2 separate regions of the Homo sapiens genome follow, and region 2 is linked to region 1. Evidence: promoter capture Hi-C in 16 types of primary human blood cells and fetal thymus (Javierre and others, 2016). All regions are on one chromosome and are shown on one strand. The core of a region is centred on a gene start or on the middle of the fragment in contact, and the rest is flanking DNA. Distances in the headings are between cores, read along the strand shown.

Region 1 (3,624 bases), core at 576-3,075:
CCAAGGGCCATACATACCCCCAGGGATGTATAGCTCACCCCTGTAATCCCAGCACTTTGGGAGGCCAAAGCGGGGAGAGTGGCTTGAGGACAAGAGTTCAAGACCAGTCTGGGCAACACAGCAAAACCCCCGTCTCTACAAAAGTGTTTTAAAAATAAAAAATAGGTAGGTATGGTGGTGTGTGTCTGTAGTCCCAGCTATTAAATACTCTGGAAGGTGAGGCGGGAGGATTGCTTGAGCCCAGGAGTTTGAGGCTATGTGAGCACTGCACTCCAGCCTGGGCAACAGAGCAAGACCCTGTCTCTAAAAATAAAATAAAAATAAAAAGTAGCCTGTCAGCACATCAATCACAGCAGCAGGTTTTTCTTTCTTCAAACCACTATCTGATATTATCTCGTTAACTTCTTCAAGTCTTTAATAACAAAAATAATAGCAGCAAATACACATGATATGGAAGTATTTTACTTATCAGGTTGAACCCTATAAAAGTGCCAATCTGTAAATAAAAAACGGTTAAATATGGGTAATTCCACAGTGTTCGATTTAATATATTAACTTGTTTGCAGCTCACAACCACCTTACAAAGTAGGTCCCCCAGATGAAGAAACTGTAAGAACAGAGAGGCTGCTTAACTTACCCGACGTCACATTGCTAGTAAGTGGCAGAACCAGGATTTGAACCCATGCTCAACACTCCCACCCCACAAAAATGCAAGTTCCATGAAGGCGGATAGTCTTGTTCATTGCAACGTCACTCCCATTGCCTATTATCACAGAGTATGGGCACGTATGTAGTAAGTTCTCAATAAATACATGTTTGAGTGAGTGAGTGAGTGAATAAATGAATGAATGAATGAATCTCCTTAAAATCACTGGTCGACTGCCCAGACCACTCGGAGCAACCAATGCAGAAGCCTGCCGGGCCAAGAGGAACCGAGGGAAGGAAGACCTGGGCGGGCAGGTGCCCCAGGGGCTCGGGGTGCAGTGGGGGCGCGGCGGCGCGCGGGCTCACCTTGAAGTCGCGGCTGTGCTGCGGGGTGTACTCCAGGGTCCAGAGGGCCCGCACCAGGTGCGCCAGCTGCTCAGTGACCTCGCCCTGGCCCTGCGCGCCGCGGCCCGCAGGCTGCTCCGGGTCAGGCGAGGGCTCGGGCCGCCCCGCCCGGTACTGGCCCAGCGCCAGGTACTCGGCGAAGAGCTCGGTGTTGCTGAGGCACTGCAGCGTGGCGTTCATGAAGCACGTGTTGCCGTGGTTGCGGAGCCCCGCCACGCCGGGCACCGGCTCGGCGGCGCAAGCGGGCGGCGCGGGAGAGGCGGGCGGCGGCGGGCACGGCGGCGGCGTGGGCGCGGCGGCCGGCCCGGGCGGGAAGCAGCTGCGGAGGCCGCCGCGGTCTGGGGCGGCGCCCTCAGAGCTAAGGTGCGAGAGCGTGGACAGCGTCTTGAGAACGCGGCTCATGAAGCTGCCCACCGAGCGTGCAGAGGAGGGCGAGGAGGGCGAGGAAGGCGCGGCCGGCCCGGACGCCCCGGGGCCCCCCGCGCCGCCGCCGCCAGCGCGGCCGCTCCGAAACAGCCGCTTGCTGAAGGAGCGCTTCTCCTTCCCGCTCGCCGCCGCCGGCGGCCCGGACCCAGGCGCCGTTACCTTGGACATGGCGGCGGCCGCAGACACTCATCACCGCGCCCGCCCGCCCGGCCCGCGGCCCCGCCACGGCCGCCGCCGCATCCCGCAGCGCCGCGCCTCACCGGGCCCGGGGGCTCGACGCCCCACACACCTCAAAGCGCAGCCGAGCCAGCGAGCGAGCGGCGGCCGGCGGGGCCAGCGGGCGCGCGCGCGGTCCGCCCAGCTGAGCCGCTCACGTGACGTGCCTCCCGGCGCCGCCCGCCCGGCGCTGAAGCCGCCTCGGCCGCCATGTTCACTGTGGGACGGTAGCTGCCTCTCCAGCCGGACGCGATGCCTGGAGGCTGCGGGCGCGGTCCTGCTGCGTGAAGCCCGAGGGAGGCCATGTCTAGTGTGGGCGCCGTCCCGGCTTGGAGGAAAAGGCTGGGCTCCCGTTGGATGGTGGATCCCCGGGGTGGGTCTCTGTCTTTGCTGGTCAGATGGCAGAGGCGGGAACGTGCAGGAATCAGGATGCTGTCAGTTACCAGACCGTGCAAGAGCTGGTGGACATGGCCCTGACAGGTCCTGGGCAAGTCAGCCCTGTCTGGCTCCCAAGGGACGTTGCAGATACCTACCCTCTGGGTGCCAGCGGAGCGCAGTCACAGACCCTGGCACGTCCCAGCGGGCTTTTCTTCCTGGCTGCACCTTGGAGTCCCAGCGAAACGCTGTTATCATAACTACTTTCCTTTTCATTCCAGCCTTTAAAACTCCTCCGGGCTCTCCCATCATTCATCATTCCATTCATTCATTCACTCACTCATTCATTCAGCAGTTACTGGGGATATTGCAAAGAATTAAACCTATTAAATTAGAATCAAATGTCATATCCCCAGCGGATTAAATTAGCACGGTTTCTACCTGCCCTCTTGCAGCTTACATTCCTACTGGGTGTTTACAATAGCTGTTGTGTTCCACACATTATGCCAAGCATGCAATATTTTCTTTAATCTTTAATTCACCGTCTTTGAGATTGGTACAGTTCTTATCTGATTCAAACCCAAGTTTTATTTACAACCCCTATACTTGACCTCTAAACCAAAGGTCACGAATCCACAAATATCACAGGTCACAAACCCACAAATGAGTGAAGAATCCTGGTGTTTGAATCATCATATTGACTTTCAAGTGACTTGGGTCTCAGTGTTGGGGGAAATATAAGGAATGATGGGGACTATAGCAGACTTCAAATTAACATCTTTCTAAAGAGGTGGCTGCCACTCAGCTCCAGCCAGTTGTTCCCATGTGAGAACAGGAGCTCAGCGTTACCAGATCATCTGATGTTTTAAGAGAAGGCAGAAATCCTATTTTTAAACGTTGGTTCCATTAAAAAAAAAATAGTGCAGGGAGCAAAAAATAGTACATCTTTGGGATGCCTTTAGTCCAAAATCAACTAGTATATGACCTCCTCTCTATAGGCTCCCCTCTGCTAAAAGGGCTAGTCTGAGTCCTGAGGCAGAAGAGAGAAATCAGAGAAGGGAGAGCCCTTCCTCCTTTTTAAAACATGAAGGCCACCTTACACCACGTTTCAAAGTAAATGGTTTTTACCTTTGACCTCCCTCCCCAATGTAAGTAGGGCTCTATGATGACATCTCCAGGGTGCTCTGCACTGTCCCTAATCGGCTCCACTCTCCTCTTAGTCAAAATTCTTATCTGGACACCAGGAAGAAAGCCATCTGATTATTCACACTAAAATGTGAATGCAATGGCCCTCAACTTCTGGGCAGTTTGATCTAGACTCGAGGGCCTTTGCTGGAGCCGTTCCCTCTCCCTTGAACCTTTCCTTAGCTAACTTAGAACCTTTCTACTTAGCTAACTTCCCCTCATCCTTAAAGTCCCACCTTAGATATCACCCCCTCCAGGAGATGTCCCTTCCACAGGCCCTCTTGGCACCTCTCATTCATGACACTGACTTGACCATATTGCAATTCAGTTTACAATCATCACCTTCACTAATATGTGGGCTTCAACCCAGTA
Region 2 (3,580 bases), core at 1,069-3,568, 360 kb after region 1:
CCCACCTCGGCCTCCCAAGTAGCTGGAATTACAGGTGTGCGCCACCACACATGGCTATTTTTTGTATTTTAGTAGAGACGGGGTTTCACCATGTTGGCCAGGCTGGTCTTAAACTCCTGGCCTCAAAGGATTGGCCCACCTCAGCCTCCCAAAGTGCTGCGATTACAGGCATGAACAGCCTTTTTTTCTAATTTTTGCAACTCCAGTCTAAGCCTTCTGTTCTCCATTGCCTCCTAAAACTACTACCTTCTGTCTCTACTGTTTAACTCAAGGATGTCTCATTAAATAACTGGTTGGTTACCAAATTCAAAGTTCTCTCTTCTCCTTCCTCATTCTCCTCCATCTTTAAGGAGCAAAACTACGTTACAACCACATCCCTCCTTTGCTATCAGTGGGTGCCCCTGCAGGTCTCCCCCTGCCTGTTTCTGCTCAGCCTTCAGTCTTCTCTTCCCATCTGCCTCTTCAATGCTGGGGCTCCCCACGCTCTCTTTCCAAACCTCTGCTCTTAATATACGCAAGCTTCTCCCGCAAGCTCACTGCCAATGAACCAGACTCCCAAACCGTACGTCCCACACTTGCCCTCTCCAGTGCCAACCAGCTGCCTAGAGGGCATCTCTTTTTTGACTATGCCACAAGCACCTCAAACTCCACATCTCAACCTTCTCTGCCTAAACCAGCTCCTCCTCACAGGGGAGGCATCTGTAACCCACCAGTTCCTCGAGCCTGAAACCCGCGATCTAGCCTAGATTTCTCCTTGTCCCCTGTCTGCATTCCAAGGCACCGAGGCTGCTGACTACGCCTGCTCATTGCTTCTCCCTCTCCCCACTGCCTTAGTCCTCCTGCGGCCCCCAACCACCACCAAAAGAGCTTTTTAGCCGCTCTCCCTGCCTGAAGTCTCACCCTCTCCGCCCAATTTAGCACCATATGGCTGCAAGTGACGCCTTTAACAGGCTTCCTTGATCAGATTCTCCGGCTGAAAACTCCCAAACAGCAACCCCGCCCTCGGATAAAACATAAACTCCTTTCTGCAGCACACAAGGCTCTTGAAGATCTCGCCCCAATTAGCCGTGCAGCCCCTTTCCCGGATTCCTGAGCTTTAGGCTTGCACTCCAGCGGACTGACCTACTTGTTCCCGGAGTGCTCCACATTCTCTTGTCCCCAGCTTTTGCACACGCAGTTTCTTCTGCCTGGAATGCGGTCGGCTGTGACGACCCCCAGGTAAACCAACTCCTACCACCACAGGTGAAACGAACGCCCTCCTCCTCCTCGCCAATCCCGTTAGTAAGGTGATGTGACTGCCGGCTTGTACCCACTAAAAAATGTTTTGGTGAGCAAGGACCCTGTGTTATGCATCTCAGTGTTCCTGGCACCTAGCAGAGCTGGGTACAAGGGGAATATTCTTTATCCCCTTTGAACCTCAATCCCTCATTGGTAAAACGGAGATAATAATAACCCCTAAGATGACTGTGAAGCTTACAGGAGACATGCAGAAGAATTCTGGCCAAAGGGTTTGAGCCCAACCAGGGTAACATAATGAGACCCCGTCTCTTAAAGGAAAAAAAAAACACACATATATATATATACGCACACACACACACACGTGTGTGTGTGTTTAAAAAAAAAAGTCTGGCCAAAGTAAACACAAAAGGTAAAAAATTTCTTTTTGACGCGGTAGCCAGATAGAGATCTTTCTCAGCCCCAAACAGACTGCATGTCTTGCACGACTGCGTCTCCTTAAGCCTCAAGGTCCCCGCTTCCGTAGTGGGGTTAATAATAGAAGCCAGCTCGGGGTGGGAATGAGGATTAAGCAGGACTAAGCCGCTGTGAGCACAGTGCCTGGCGCAGGGGAAAGCGCAGGTCACGTAGCCATTGGGGTGGGGGTCGGGGTCCTGTGCTGCTGCTAAGTTGGGGGGTGGGCGGAGGGGGAGGGGCAGAGCTCAGAAGGGGGCCGCTGCCCCGGCGGATGCTTGGGGCTCCTCTCGGGGGACCCCTGGGCGATCTTCCCCACCGCGCCGGGCCCAGGCCCCCTACCCGGCCGCCGGCCTCCCCTGCGGCCGCCCGCCCCGAAGCAAGGCCCCGGGAGGCGGGAAGCGAGGCCTCACGTGCGGCGCAGCGGCTGCGCCGAAGGCCTGCCAGGCTACTCACTGAGCCACAGCTCCAGCGACGCTGCCGGGCCCGGGGGACCCTGGGCCGACTCGGTTCCCGCCACAGCCGCCGCCACCGCGGTCGCCGCCATCGCTCCAGCCCCGACGCTGCGGCCGCGGGCGCCACTGCCTCTTCAGCCGCTGTAGCGTCCTGGCGCTCTCCTCTGCTGACTGCGCGGCAGGAGCGGTGGACACGTGACGGGGCGGGGCCGCTGGCGCCACGCCCACCCCAGGCCCCCCCTCCACGCGGGACCGGCCGGAACATTTCTTAGTCCAGATCCCTCCACCCAGCGCTGGTCTTCTAAGACCACTCACCGTACGGTTGCCAGATAAAATACAAGACGCCCAGTTAAATTTGATTTTCAGAAGAACACGAATAATTCTTTTAGCATTTTTATTTTTTAAGAGACGGGGTCTTGCTCTGTCACTCAGGCTGGAGTCCAATGGCGCGATCACGGCTCACTGCAGCCTCCACCTCCTAGGCTCAAGCGATCCTCCCGCTTCAGTCTCCGGAGGAGCTGGGACTAGGGGAGGGCACCACCACGCCTGGCGTGTGTGTGTGTGTGTGTTAGAGACTGGGTTTCACCGTGTGTGTGTGTGTGTGTGTGTGTGTGTGTGTGTGTGTGTGTTAGAGACTGGGTTTCACCATGTTGCCCGGGTGGTCTCGAACTCCTGGTGTTAGAGACTGGGTTTCACCGTGTGTGTGTGTGTGTGTGTGTGTGTGTGTGTGTTAGAGACTGGGTTTCACCATGTTGCCCGGGTGGTCTCGAACTCCTGGGCTACAAGATCCTCTTACCTCGACTTCCCAAAGTGCTTGCATTTATTTTTTATTTTTCTTTTTTTCTTTTTTTGAGACGGAGTCTCACTCTGTCGCCTAGGCTGGAGTGCAGGGGTGCCATCTCGGCTCACTGCAACCTCCACTTCCTGGGTTCAAGCGATTCTCCTGCCTCAGCGTCCCGAGTAGCTGGGACTACAGGTGCATGCCACCACACCCAGCTATTTTTTTTTTTTTTGTATTTTTAGTAGAAACGAGGGTTCACTATGTTGGCCAGGCTGGTCTCGAACTCCTGACCTCGTGATCTGCCCGCTTCGCCCTCCCAAAGTGCTGGGATTACAGGGGTGAGCCACCACGCCCGGCCTATGTGCTTGCATTTTTATTCACAGAAGGGTTTTCCTGGAACACTTTTTTTTTTTTTCAGATGGAGTCTCGCTCTGTCGCCCAGGCTGGAGTGCAGTGGTGCTATCTCGGCTCATTGCAACCTCCACCTCCCTGGTTTCCTGGAACACTTCTAAACTAACATGTCCTGCATTCCTCAATACTCTGCTTTATTTTCTGCATCACACAGTACACCATCGATGTATTATTTACTTGCTTATTCTGTTAAAAGATAATTTTCCCAAAAAAGTATGTCATGATTATCATAATTATGAAATGA

What was found. The method cuts DNA at HindIII sites, captures the fragments that hold promoters and counts their contacts. A CHiCAGO score of 5 or more calls a contact.
Region 2: a contact is called between the fragment with the promoter of GGA2 here and the fragment with the promoter of USP31 in region 1, in 5 of 17 cell types (endothelial precursors, activated CD4 T cells, monocytes and 2 more). The highest score is 7.5, in endothelial precursors.

The regions. Positions count from the first base shown.
Region 1 is chr16:23,147,627-23,151,250 of GRCh38, forward strand. It overlaps USP31 (ubiquitin specific peptidase 31), which reads right to left and starts at 1,826. Exons shown (of 16, transcript NM_020718.4): 1 at 1,012-1,826. The coding sequence starts at 1,644. RefSeq lists silencers at 967-1,196, 1,327-1,426, 1,527-1,576, 1,727-1,826 and an enhancer at 2,007-2,226. The HindIII fragment of the contact is 4,661 bases long and covers 1-3,624 here.
Region 2 is chr16:23,508,176-23,511,755 of GRCh38, forward strand. GGA2 (golgi associated, gamma adaptin ear containing, ARF binding protein 2) reads right to left here and starts at 2,319. Exons shown (of 17, transcript NM_015044.4): 1 at 2,146-2,319. The coding sequence starts at 2,236. RefSeq lists silencers at 2,006-2,175, 2,246-2,475, 2,546-2,595. The HindIII fragment of the contact is 8,010 bases long and covers 1,471-3,580 here.